2 separate regions of the Homo sapiens genome follow, and region 2 is linked to region 1. Evidence: promoter capture Hi-C in human tissues and cell types (Jung and others, 2019). All regions are on one chromosome and are shown on one strand. The core of a region is centred on a gene start or on the middle of the fragment in contact, and the rest is flanking DNA. Distances in the headings are between cores, read along the strand shown.

Region 1 (6,895 bases), core at 548-3,047:
AGAAGGCAGGCAGAGGAAAGGAGAAACAAAAATATTAATGCAAGCTGAAAAGCATAAGCAAAGCTTTCAGAAAGAGCTGAGAGAAACCTCCACCTTCCCAAGGAGTAACACCACAAGAGTATCTGTCCTCTCTATACCACTGCTGTACACATTTAATCAACTCAGTCCTTGAGAATAGCAGGAAATTTACTTACAGAATGTACCACCGCCTTTAAAATATAATGCTAGCAAAGAACCGCTGTCAGGTTCTGAGTTCTTTTCTGCAGCCTTCTTCAATAAGCATTTACTGACCACCTACAAAGTGCCAAACACTATGCTGTTTATTAGGGAAACCCTGCAACACAGTTTGATTCCTGTCCTCAGGGAGATCAGTACGAATAGGGAAGAGTCGAGTAAAGAGATCACCACCACAGAGAGTAAACACCAGGCACAAAGGAAGCCCAGACAAGCTCCAGTCCTATCAATATCCAGCCAACCAGCCCAGGGTTAGGAACTTTCTGAACCTAGGGAACACTCCTGAGCACCACAATTGAACCGTCACAGCAGTATTCCCACACCCCCACAGGTCCTTAGGCAGACACACCCACTGCATGGGCACAGACGCACAGCTGTGTCTGTGCATACATGTTTTGGTCATTAGTTTAGTCAACAAATACTGAGGGCCACACTAAACAGGCAGTTACCAGTGCCAGCTCGGGTCCTAATTCCTCATGTGACTTCGGACAAGTCACTTCCTGAATTGGTACTGGTTCATACCAAAGGCCACAGAAGACCTTGGAATATTCCTCCCCTCAGCTGTCAGCCCTCCTCCCTCGGTGGTGGTTCCACCCTTTCCTAAGCACTAAAAATTTAAAGGCTGAGACCATGAGTCAGTATTATTTTGAATTAACCATGTTCCTTTAATTTTTTACAGTGACCACTCCACCTCATTCCTTTCCTCCACCCACCCTGAACCGGTCTACATTTGAGATTTAAGCGGGGTGGCGGGGCGGGGATCCCTATGCAAATCCCTGACCTCCGGAGTTTTCAATCTAGTTGAGTAACAGAATCAAACATGAAGAGAGATATGTAAGATAAGGTACACCAAGCACTTATGACTAAAGACATTGCAAGGCCAAGAGCAGGTGAAATGCAGCGGGGGCGGACCGCACCGCGAGGGTAAAGCCTCAACGCCCCCCGGGACTTAAGGAGGGGAGACCTCTGGGCAGGAGAACTGAGAAGGCAAGTTCCCTGGAGCAGAGGGAGCAGCAGGGGTAGAGATCGGACGCCGGGAGACCCCAGGCGGCGGGCCGCAGCAGGTCCCGGCAGTCAGACATGTGGGACACTCCCGAGCGGCCAGAAAGGATGCAAGGCGGAGGCTGCAGTCGGGAAAGGAGGAGGGTCCGCGGGGCCGGAGAGGAGGGGCTCGGGGAAAGGACCGGAGGCGGACGCCGGGGAAGCGATGGGAAGGGGTCTGAGAGGCCGGGGGGGCCCACTGGGAGGGCTCTCGAATGGGCTGCTCTAGGGGAGACTGAGAGGGCGGACCTGGGGAAGGTCAGGGTGGTCCAGGGAGGTGGGCGGACCCGTGGCCAGGAGCCTCAGGGAAAATTAGGGAGTGGGGACACCGCGGAGGTGGCGCGGTGCGGGGTCCCCTCAGAGGGGCGCGAGGCTGGGCAGCTCTAGAGGAGAATCTGGAGAGGCGCGGGCCAGAGGGGAAAGGAGCTAGGGTCGTCCGGACTAAACAGGGACACTCACCTGCGAACCAGCGTGGAGAACACCAAGACGCCACGGCGATTCCTCGCCTGCTCGCCTGCAACTGCCGCACGTCCGGCGTCCTGGCCGCCGTTCTGACGTCACGCCTCGGCGCGCATGCGCGGCGGGCCCCGGCCGGTGGGGCGGGGTGTCTGGGTGGTTTTCTGAGAAACGGGACGGAAGGCGGCAGGGGGCGTGGGTCTCCCAGGAGGTCGGCGCTTCCACTAAAAGGAAGTGTTACAAAGTGAGATCCTGTCTTAAAAATATAAAAATTTAAAAAAAAATTGTTAGCACCCTAATCTTGGTTTCTAAATACCGCTCTCTAAAAATAGGGCCAAGGCGCCTTAGAGAAATGGGCGACTCTAGGACCCGGGCGCAGAAAGCTCCAGCTGAGCCGGGAGCGTTTTGTAGGCCAGAAGCTTGAGGTGCTCAAAAAACTGAAGGACCGGGCGTCCAAGGGCGCAGGGATCTACCCAGAGAGCTTCCGGGGGCCGCGCCTGGGACAATTTGAGCAGCAATATAAAGTACATTGCATTAAGTTATAACCTAAAGTATAAAACAGCCCAGAGCCCGTGCTGCTATAAATACGTGATTAAATAAATGAGGGAGAAGGGATAATCTTCCTTGCAGAGGAATTCTAATAATACCTCATCCAGAGGGGTGTGGTAATCCGTCCACACCCACCCTGAGTGTGGCCTATGCCTGGGGACGACCTTTCCAAGAGTACAGTGTGGAAAGAGGGCTGTAGAGCCACTCCACGTGAAAATCAAAGTGATTAGTCACTGCACTTGCCCTTGACATGTGATTAAAAAAAAAACCGTGACCTCAGTCTAACTGAAAGATAAACATCAGACAAATCTCGTTTGTGGGATATTCCTCAAAACACCTCACCAGTACTCCTCAAACTATCAAGGTAATCAAAAGCAAGAAAAAAACTGAGACACTGTCATATGCAACATGGTGATGTAGCTAGGCTATAAACTTAAAATAAAATTTAAGTTTAGGTAATAGTAGTTTTTAGTTATAAGAAATGTATAATGGTTATGTAAGATGTTAACATTAGGAGAAATTGTGTGAAGGGTATACTAGCTTTATAACTTTTTTGTAGTCTAAAATTATTCCAGATGAAAAGTTGGGGGTTTTCTGAAGACAATAGAGGGAAAATAAATGTTAGCCAGGTGAGATGGTTCATGCCAGTAATCCCAGAGCTTTGCGAGCCAGAGGCAGGAGGATTGCTTGAGCCCAGAAGTTTGACCTGCAATCAAGCCACTGCGTTCCAGCCTAGCAGGGGTTGGGGGGTGGTGTAGGGGTACTGCCTGGAAAGAGGCTTGAGAGAGCCTCCTGGCAACCCCACTCCTAGGGTGCTGAAAATGTTCTATACATTGATCTGAGTGGTGGGTACGTGTGTGTAAGTAAAACTTTATCAAGCTGAACACTATACTTAACATTTGTACATTTTTGGCCGGGCACAGTGGCTCACGCCTGTAATCCCAGCACTTTGGGAGGCCGAGGCAGGCAGATCACGAGGTCAGGAGTTTGAGACCAGCCTGACCAACGTGGTGAAACACCGTCCATACTAAAAATACAAAAAAAAATTAGTCAGGCCTGGTGGTGCGCTTGTAATCCCAGATACTCAGAGACTAAAAATACAAAAATTAGCCAGGCGTGGTGGCGGGCGCCGGTAGTCCCAGCTACTTGGGAGGCTGAGGCAGGAAAATGGTGTGAACCCGGGAGGCAGACGTTGCACTGAGCCGAGATCACGCCACTGCACTCCAGCCTAGGCGACAGAGAGACTCCATCTAAAAAAAAAAAAAAAAAAAAAAAAGATTTGTACATTTTTCTGTGTATAAATTATATCTAAATTTAAAAGGGAAAAACTCTTAAAAAAAATATTGGAAGAGCCCTATTATTATTGGTCTTCAAAACCCCAAACTCTGCCAATCAGGGCCCCTGTCTTAACCCAGCTCCTCTCTGGGGAAAATTTAAAAAATGCAGGGTAGGGAGTCCTATGATGCCTGCAATCCCATCTTTTGCAAGATATTATAGCTTAGTCAACACAAGAGTTCAGAGATTTGTGTGACATGGGGTTCTTCCTGGTTCCGCTGCTTCTGGATGAGCTCGGGTAAATTGCCTGACATCAACAAGCTTCTTGACCAGCCCTCATTAAGGCTATACTAGCCCTGACCACCTTCAGGGTCAGTCTTAGGGACCTTTCAGGGTCTGAGTTTGGAGTATCCAAAAATACACTAACACATTCTCTCTGAGTGATGGGACTGTGGATGACATTTCTTTTTTCTACTTTTCTGCATTTTCCAAGTTTTCTTTCATGAATATGTATCACTTCAACAACAGGAAAAAGTAATATTTAAGGCTGGGTGTGATGGCTCACGTCTATAATCCCAGCACTTTGGGAGGCCAAGACAGGAGAATTACTTGAGCCCAGGAGTTCAAGACCAGCTTGGGCAACACAGTGGGACACTTTCTCTACAAAAAAATAAAAATAAAAAAATTAGACTGGCATGGTGGCATGCATCTGTAGTCCCAGCTACTTGAGAGGCTGAGAGGGAAGCTTCACTAGAATCCGGGAGGTCAAGGGTGCAGTGAGCCATGATTGTGTCACTGCACTCCAGGTTGAGCAAAAGAATGAGACCCTGCCTCAAAATAATAATAATTTTTTTTTTGAGATGGAGTCTCACTGTCACCCAGGCTGGTGGACAGTGGCACCATCTAGGCTCACTGCAACCTCCGCCTCCTGGGTTCAAGCAATTATTCTGCCTCAGCCTCCTGAGTAGCTGGGAATACAGGTGTGCGCCCCCACACCCAGCTATTTATTTTGTATTTTTAGTAGAGACAGGGTTTCATCATGTTGGCCAGGCTGGTCTCAAACTCCCGACCTCGTGATCCACCTGCCTCGGCCTCCCAAAATGCTGGGATTACAGGCGTAAGCCACTGCACCCAGACAAAAAAAAAGTAATATTTTAATAAAGTTCAGTTTAAGTAGGCGTTCCAGTACCTGGAGGAGGGAGTGTCCCATAACAAGTTTTCTGATTCAGTAAAACTGGCTTTCTGGGCTGGGCGTGGTGGCTCACGCCTGTAATCCTAGCACTTTGGGAGGTCGAGGCATGCAGATCGCTCGAGGTCCAGAGTTCGAGACCAGCCTGGCCAACGTGGTGAAACCCCATCTCTACTAAAAATACAAAATAATTAGCCAGGCGTGGTGGCGGGCACCTGTAATCCCAGCTACTTGGGAGGCTGAGGCAGGAGAATAGCTTGAACCCAGGAGGCGGAGGTTGCAGTGAGCTGAGATTGTGCCACTGCACTCCAGCCTGGGCGACTGAGTGAAACTCCAACTCAGAAAAAAAAAAAAAAAAAAGAAAGAAAAGAAAAACTGGCTTCCTGTTCATGTTTATTGAGAAGAGGCCAGGGGAAAGAAGGCTGGGTGCAGGTGAGGACGCCTGCTTTCCAGCCCCCTATCTGAATGTGCAGCCTCTTGTCTGAAACTGAGAGGGAGAAGTCCAAGAGTTCAAAGAGTTGCATTGGGACTCTGTACCCATCAGTCACCTGTCTCTGTGGCCCTCAACTGGCTCAAACCAAATTACCTGCTGCTAAGCCCCACTCCATTTCTTGCCCAGTTACTAGTATGCGTTTCTTTATTGAAGAAAATAAAGTGAGAAGTTCTGGTGGTTAAAAAAGAAATTCCAGGCCAGGCACATTAGCTCACACCTGAAATCCCAACATTTGGAAGGCCGAGGCAGGAGGATCACTTGAGGCCAAAAGTTCAAGACCAACCTGGACAACATAGTAAAACAAAATATACAAAAACATAAGTAAATTTAAAAAAAAAACTCCAAATAGAACATGAAGTAAAATACCATGTCTCCCCTGCTACACCCCACATAATTGGGAATGTGGAGCTTCCAAGGAATAGGAGATAACAGGCACTCTTCCTTTACTTTTTCTTTCTTTGTGTTTTTTTTTTTTTTTTTTGAGACGGAGTCTCGCTCTGTCGCCCAGGCTGGAGGGCAGTGGCGGGATCTCGGCTCACTGCAAGCCCCACCTCCCAGGATCACGCCATTCTCCTGCCTCAGCCTCCCAAGTAGCTGGGACTACAGGCACCCGCCACCACGCCCGGCTAATTTTTTGTATTTTTAGTAGAGACGGAGTTTCACCATGTTAGCCAGGATGGTCTCCATCTCCTGACCTCGTGATCCGCCCGCCTCAGCCTCCCAAATTGCTGTGATTACAGGCGTGAGCCACAGCGCCCGGCCGAAATTTTTTATATGTATAAAAGTAGCCAGGGTGGAACAGTAGGATTTCAGCTGCCCCACAATGTTTACCAACACCCAGGTCCATCCCAAACAGACACACAGCACTAGGGAGAAGAGCAGGGGCAAGCAATGCAGAGTGCAGCGCAGGAAGCCGTTCCAGCATGCTGGCTGCACCTTTGCTTCTCCTATACGGAAACTTTGTAACTGCTTTTTGGGGTGGGAAACAATGAGTTTTTGCATGCCTAAATTTTACTTCATTTTGCCCTCAACATCTACTAAGAAGCCATGGCTTTCTTCAGACAGTGGAATCCATTTCTTTCTTTCTTTTTTTTATTTTTTTGAGACGGAGTTTCACTCTTGTTGCCCAGGCTGGAGTGCAATGGCTCGATCTTGGCTCACCACAACCTCCGCCTCCCAGGTTCAAGCGATTCTCCTGCCTCGGCCTCCCAAGCAGCTGATACTACAAGCACCCACCACGACACCCGACTAATTTTGTATTTTTAGTAGAGACGGGGTTTCTCCAGGTTGGTCAGGCTGGTCTCGAACTCCCAACCTCAGGTGATCCGCCTGCCCCGGCCTCCCAAAGTGCTGGAATTACAGGCATGAGCCACCACGCCCGGCCAAAGACAGTGGAATCCATTTCTTTTGAGGATAGTAGTTGGGGTTTTGCCCACTATAAACAGGAAGCTGCCCATGTACACAAGAATGGAGAAATAAAAAGGGGCACAGCTGTGGTACAGGCAGCCTTGCAGTTAATGTCCTTGTTTACAGGTCTGTTTCTCTCCCCCTTCACTCCCTGCTTTGGATTGCAGCCTTTTCTGCCTATTTCAACCATCCACAGGAAAGTGAGTGCCCTTTCTCCTCCAGCCCACCTGAGCCTCTACTGCTACTTCAGT
Region 2 (6,330 bases), core at 456-2,955, 40 kb after region 1:
TTGGCTGTGTCCCCACCCAAATCTCATCTTGAATTGTAGCTCCTGTAATCCCCACATGTCACTGGAGGGACCTGGTGGGAGGTAATTGAATCATGGGGGTGGATTTTTCCTGTGCTGTTCCCATGATAGTGAATAAGTCTCACGAGATCTGATGGTTTTATAAAGGGCAGTTCCCCTGCACACGTTTGCTCTTCCTTTGCCTTCCACCATGATTGTGAGGCCTCCCCAGCCATGTGTAACTGTGAGTCCATTAAACCTCTTTCCTTTATAAATTACCCAGTCTCGGGTATTTCTTTATTAGTAGTATGAGAATGAACTAATACAACTGGGCTGTCCATTTTTGGAATCAGAGCTTTGAATTGTGGAGTTAGCTAGATGTGGATTATACTCCTGACTGTGTCACTCCCTGGGAAAGTTGTTTAACTTCACCCTTGGCATTGGAATAATGAATAAATAACTCCTTGATTTCTTATGGGAGGATTTCAGCCCCAAGCCTACGATCAGGCATAGATGTCAGCTGGGCCAGCACATTGAGGCCTCTGTTCTGGTCCTACTTAGAGTCACAAGTACCTGTAACTAATATTGGTAATGATGATCTGAAATTGTCAAAACAGTCTGTTCTTTGTAATAAGCTCTACACACAAGGTTGTTTAGATATTTATTACATTAGCACTTATTTTTAAAAGGTACAAATTTAGGCCGGGTGCAATGGCTCATGCCTGTAATCCCAGCACTTTGGGAGGCCGAGGCGGACGGATCACGAGGTCAGGAGATCGAGACCATCCTGGCTAACACGGTGAAACCCCGTCTCTACTAAAAATACAGAAAATTAGCCGGGTGTGGTGGTGGGCGCCTGTAGTCCCAGCTACTCGGGAGGTTGAGGCAGAAGAATGGCATGAACCTGGGAGGCGGAGCTTGCAGTGAGTGAGTCGAGATCGAGATCGCACCACTGCACTCCAGCCTGGGCGACAGAGCGAGACTCCACTCAGTCTCAAAAAAAAAAAAAAAAAGATACAAATGTTGCAAAGAGTGATGGAGTGATGAAATAGCTTCCATGGTCATTGGTGTGTATGGCTGGGTGGAGGGTAAATTGGAGAAACTTCTTTGGAGGGCAGTTTGGTAGTGTATGTTAGAAGCTTAAAAATGAACCCTTTCGACCCACTTCTAGGAATGTATTCTAAGGGCAATAATTGGATGTGCAAACATTTATGTACAGGTACACATGCATTTAATTACGAAGTGATGGTTTAATTAAACTGTTTATCACACAGTGTTTATCTGGTTTTGGTACTTGTTTATGGAGAATATTTAATGATAAGTGAAAATGGTTTACAGTAGAGCTTTCTTTTCTTTTTTTTTTTTTTCTTTTTTTCTTTTTTTTTTGAGCTGGAGTCTCGCTCTGTTGCCCAGGCTGGAGTGCAGTAGTGCGATCTCAGCTCACTGCAAGCCTTGCCACCTGGGTTCAAGCGATTCTCCTGCCTCAGCCTCCTGAGAAGCTGGAATTACAGGCGCTCTCCACCACGCCGGCTAATTTTTGTATTGTTAGTAGAGACGGGGTTTCTCCATGTGTGTCAGGCTGGTCTTGAACTCCTGACCTCAGGCGATCCCGCCCACCTAAGCCTCCCAAAGTGCTGGGATTACAGACATGAGCCCCCATGCCCGGCGTTTCTTTTCTTTTTGAACTCAGAATTATAGCCATAAAATGAAACCCTTGGTTTGTTTAAAAATTAAACTTCATGCATGGCAGCCGAGGGGGAGAGAATAGCCTTTGGAATATTAATAGTCTGTGAGGTCTTGTGGAGCCTGTTTCTTTCCCTCTTAAAGGTTTACATTCATAGAGGTAAAAGATTGCAGTGCTCCACAAGGCTTTTAAAAATGAACAATAGCAGTTGCCTGCTCCCTTGTGGGAGCCCCCACATTTCACTCCCCATGGGCAAACTCCAGCTCTTTAACTCTTTAAAGCTGCTTTTGCTCGTGCCTTCCGTGCTTCCACATGACATGTTTCTGCTGTTCCCTGCTTCTTTTTTTGTTTGTTTTTGTAAAGTGGCACTGCTTTACTGACTTCTCACTTTGCTGCCCCGACCTTCCTTCACAGTTCTATTATTGTGGCCGCATCAGCACTGTTCACGGCTGTGTCTTCTGTGCGGCGATCCTGTTGTCCTGTGCCCTGTTGCAGTTTCTTCTGCATCTACTGCGGTGTCCCTGGAATTAATACTGTACTTATCTGGTGTCTTTGATTAGGTTTCTGTGACCATAGCATTAATTAAACCTCCAGCTACCCCCGATGTGTTGAGATCTCTTCTTAGCAATTTCAGATACTTGTGTGTTGTTTTCCTGGTGATCTCTGAAGCCCTCCCTTCCTCTCTCTTATCTGGACTGGTTGTCCTCTGGGCCAGACCCTGGGGGGGTCACTGTTCTCATCATCCCAGGGCTTGCTTTTGCCTTTCCCTTCTGCCTGAGTTCTTTTCTTTTTTCCTCGTTTACTCTGGTTTTGGCGGGGGATTTTCTTCAGTAACCACCTGGGAGAGTATGGAAAAGTCACAATTTTGAGATTTTCCATGTCTGAAAACATTTTATTCTGCACGCACACTTCGTTGATGGTTGTCTGGATACAGAATTCTAGAGAGCAGTTATTTCCCCCCAGAATATTCGGGTGTTTGCTCAATGGCTTTCCAGCTTCCACCACTGTTGCTGAGAATTGGGGTACCTTGTTGGTGCCTGATTGAGTGTAACCTTGGTTTTTCTTTGCTATTCTGTAGGATTTTTGCCTCCAGTGTTCAGAAATTTCATGATGCTGTGTTTTGGCACAGATCTTCTCTCCTCACATGTACTTCAGGCTTCTGAATTTTTTAAATTTTCTAAATAAATGTCTTTTTTTACTCAAAAAATTATTATAAAAAAATCCGCGTGGTACACAGTACTTTTGAAAAAAAAAATGACCTATTTAAATAAAAAGTTTCTGGTTCCCGAACAGTTGGCATTCTAAAATCAGTGACCCTGTGCATGTCCTCTTCCCTGAGGGCACAGCCAGGGTCACTCACAGGTCTGGTGAAGTGGAAGGAGGGAGCGTCTGTTGTCTGCGCCGCCTGGGTTGCATCAGTACAGATGGGCTTCCTGGGGAGGGAGAATCTGAAAAGCTGTTGTTTTGGAAAGACCTAGCACTGAATGAATTTGATATTTCAGGGAGGCAGTGTATATTTTTGGGTACGATGAGGTAATTGTGTGTATTTATTTAAAGTTTGTGAAGTTCCTGTTGAGTTACTATGGAGGGATATGGTGGACTTAGTGCTGAATGAAAAAAAAAAGGTGGCAAGCACACACTGTCTATTTTTAATTAAAAAAATTTTTTTACTTAGTGTTTTAAATTTTTAAAATTATTATTATTAGTTTTTAGAGACAGGGTCTTGCTCAGTCGCCCAGGCTGGAGTGTGGTTGCACAATCATAGCTCACTGTAACCCAGAATTGCTGTGCTCAATGAGCGATCCTCCTGCCTTGGCCTCCTAAATCGCTGAGACTACAGGTACACCCCACCATGCCTTGCTAATTTTTATTTTGTAGAGACAAGGTCTCGCTATGCTGCTCAGGCCAGTCTCAGAACTCTTGGAATCAAGTTATCCTCCCATCTTGGCCTTCTAAAGTGTTGGGATTACAGGTGTGCACCATAGCTCTTGGCCCCACACTAAGTCTTAAATTGATAGGGAGACCTGTTTGCCTTACTTGAAATGCACTTGTCTTAAGTGCTGGCTAGAAAATGGTGTAATATTCATGCCTAAACCAAAGACCAAAAGTTTTCTGGTGAGCATTAGAACGTAGCCTCACAGTCATAAGAATAAACAGTAAGATAATATATATTAAAAACCATTGTTGTGATTAGAAATCGTTGGTGACTTTTTTCAACATTTTATTGTAAAAAATTTCAGATGTCACAGAAAAGTTGCAGAAATTTCACAGTGATCACCTATATATGGACTGCTAAGATTCTACGATTAAATTTTTTAAATTTAAAAAATTTCAGATGTCACAGAAAAGTTGCAGAAACTTCACAGTGATCACCTATATATGGACTGCTAAGATTCTACGATTAAACTTTTTAACGTCAACTTTTACAAGTAACATTTTACTTGTATCACATACACATTACTCCATCCATCCTTCAGTCCATCTTATTTTTTGATGGGTTTCATTTCAGAGTAAGTTGTGGTCCTCAGTATATCTTACCTCAATAACTTGAGCATGCACATCATTATTTGTTTAGTTCCTTTTTGGTTTTGTTTTTAAGTAAAATGTGCATGTGTGAAATGCACAAGTTTAGCATCCCATGCATTGCATGCTGAGTTGCATATGCATGCTTCCTTGGAGCAGTCGCTCCTTTTGCTTCAGCAACGCCTACCTGTAAAGTAGGTGTTGTAAGACACCTTGGGTAGGCCGGACGCGGCGGCTCATACCTGTAATCCCAGCACTTTGGGAGGCCGAGGTGGGTGGATCACTTGAGATCAGGACTTCGAGACCAGCCTGGCCAACATAGGTGAATCCAGTCTCTACTAAAAATACAAAAATTAGCTAAGCATGGTGGTGCACGCTTGTAATCCCAGCTACTCGGGAGGCTGAGGTAGAAGAATCGCTTGAACCCGGGAGGCAGAGGTTGCAGTGAGCTGAGATAGCACCGCTGCACTCCAACCTGGGCAACAGAGCGAGACTCCGTCTCAAAACAAAAACAAAAAAGACACCTTGGGTGATTGGATTGGGAAACCTAGGGCTAGCTGCAGGGATTTCTGCAGTGGGAGGCTTCCAGTAGAAGAAAAGGAAGACATCGTAGGTGGGCCCCTCGACTGTGTATCCTAAGGAAATGAGGCATGAAAAAGGACTTCACCTTTTTTCAGTGGCTGTGGTGGGCCAGATGAGCACTTGTGGCTGAGAGACTCCCTCTTTGGAGAGAGGTGTTCTCAGATTTTCCTCACTTTGGTTTTATACTCTGTATTAGAGGTTTGTTTGGGTTGGCAGCTTGCATCTTCTCTTCACTCTGAGCTCTTTCTGCAGTTTGAAGAGTGATAAAAAGGTCAAGGACTTTCTTATTAGCAATGTTGATGGATGTGGGTCGTGGGTTTATTGCTTGTTTTGACTTCTTTTAACAGCTTTTCCTTTTTCTTCTCATTCTTTCTTTAGTGAATCAGTTTATCAGATAGAACTGTAACTTCTTGTTGCACATTGGCTGTATATATTGAACATGTCCAGTGGCATAGTTTAACTTTTTTTCCAGCCTATGCCTAACTGCCAGGCCATCTTCCAGATCAGCATCTTTCAGACTGCTATAGAATCCTTCCTGCTGATGGCCTTTTTAAAGGCTTGGCAAAATTTTGTATTCATCTTCTTCTTCTTTTTTTTTTTTTTCGAGACAGGGTCTCCCTCTGTCGCCCAGGCTGGAGTGCATTGCCGCAGTCTCTGCTCACTGCAACCTCCACCTCCCAGGTTCAGCTGATTCTCCCACCTCAGCTTCCCGAGTGGCTGGGACTACAGTCGTGTGGCCACCAAGCCTGGCTAACTTTTGTATTTTTAGTAGCGATGGGGTTTCACCGTGTTGGCCAGGCTGGTTTCAAATTCCTGACCTCAGGTGATCCGCCTGCCTCAGCCTCCCAAAGTGCTGGGATTACAGGCATGAGCCACTGCGCCTGACTATAATTCATCTTCTAGGGGTGCGTTTGGGTGTGGTGATCCGTGGGCCCTTTCAGCTAACTTCCTTGCTTGTTCTTTTACCTCATGCATGACTGTTGTTTCCATGGAGATTTTCTGGCTAGCGTACACGCTCTCAGTTGTGTGTCAGCATCTGAAAGTACTGTATACTTTTCACCTTGCTTATTTTTACTTTTTTTTTTTTTTTAAATTTTGGAGGCGAGGTTTTGCCAGCTTGGCTAGGCTCGTCTCAACTCCTGGGCTCATGTGATCTGCCCACCTTGGCCTCCCAAAGTGCTGGGATGACAGGCGTGAGCCACCACGCCCGGCCTTCCACCTTATTAAAAAAATTGGGCCAGGCGCGGTGGCTCACGCCTGTCATCCCAGCACTTTGGGAGGCCAAGGTGGGTGGATCACAAGGTCAGGAGATCAAGACCATCCTGGCTAACACGGTGAAACCCCGTCTCTACCAAAAAAAAAAAAAATTAGCCAGGCTTGGTGGTGGGCGCCTGTAGTCCCAGCTACTCAGGAGACTGAGGCAGGAGAATGGCGTGAACCCGGGAGGCGGAGTTTGCAGTGAGCTGAGATTGCGCCACTGCACTCCAGCCTAGGCAACTGAGCGAGACTCCGTCTCAAAAAAAAAAAATTACGTATACAGAAAA

Evidence for each region. Contacts are between HindIII fragments. The study calls those that stand out against the background at their distance.
Region 2: a fragment that was not itself captured here is called in contact with the fragment with the promoter of PLEKHB2 in region 1 in 1 of the 25 tissues and cell types used here (hippocampus).

What each region holds. Positions count from the first base shown.
Region 1 is chr2:131,100,238-131,107,132 of GRCh38, reverse strand. It overlaps PLEKHB2 (pleckstrin homology domain containing B2), which reads right to left and starts at 1,797. Exons shown (of 8, transcript NM_001100623.2): 1 at 1,735-1,797. RefSeq lists an enhancer at 1,944-2,073. The HindIII fragment of the contact is 2,981 bases long and covers 1,108-4,088 here.
Region 2 is chr2:131,060,842-131,067,171 of GRCh38, reverse strand. The region is part of intron 3 of FAM168B (family with sequence similarity 168 member B); the gene reads left to right. Among named protein-coding and RNA genes, the nearest start is that of SMIM39, 29 kb to the right of the region's middle. The HindIII fragment of the contact is 6,063 bases long and covers 1-4,736 here.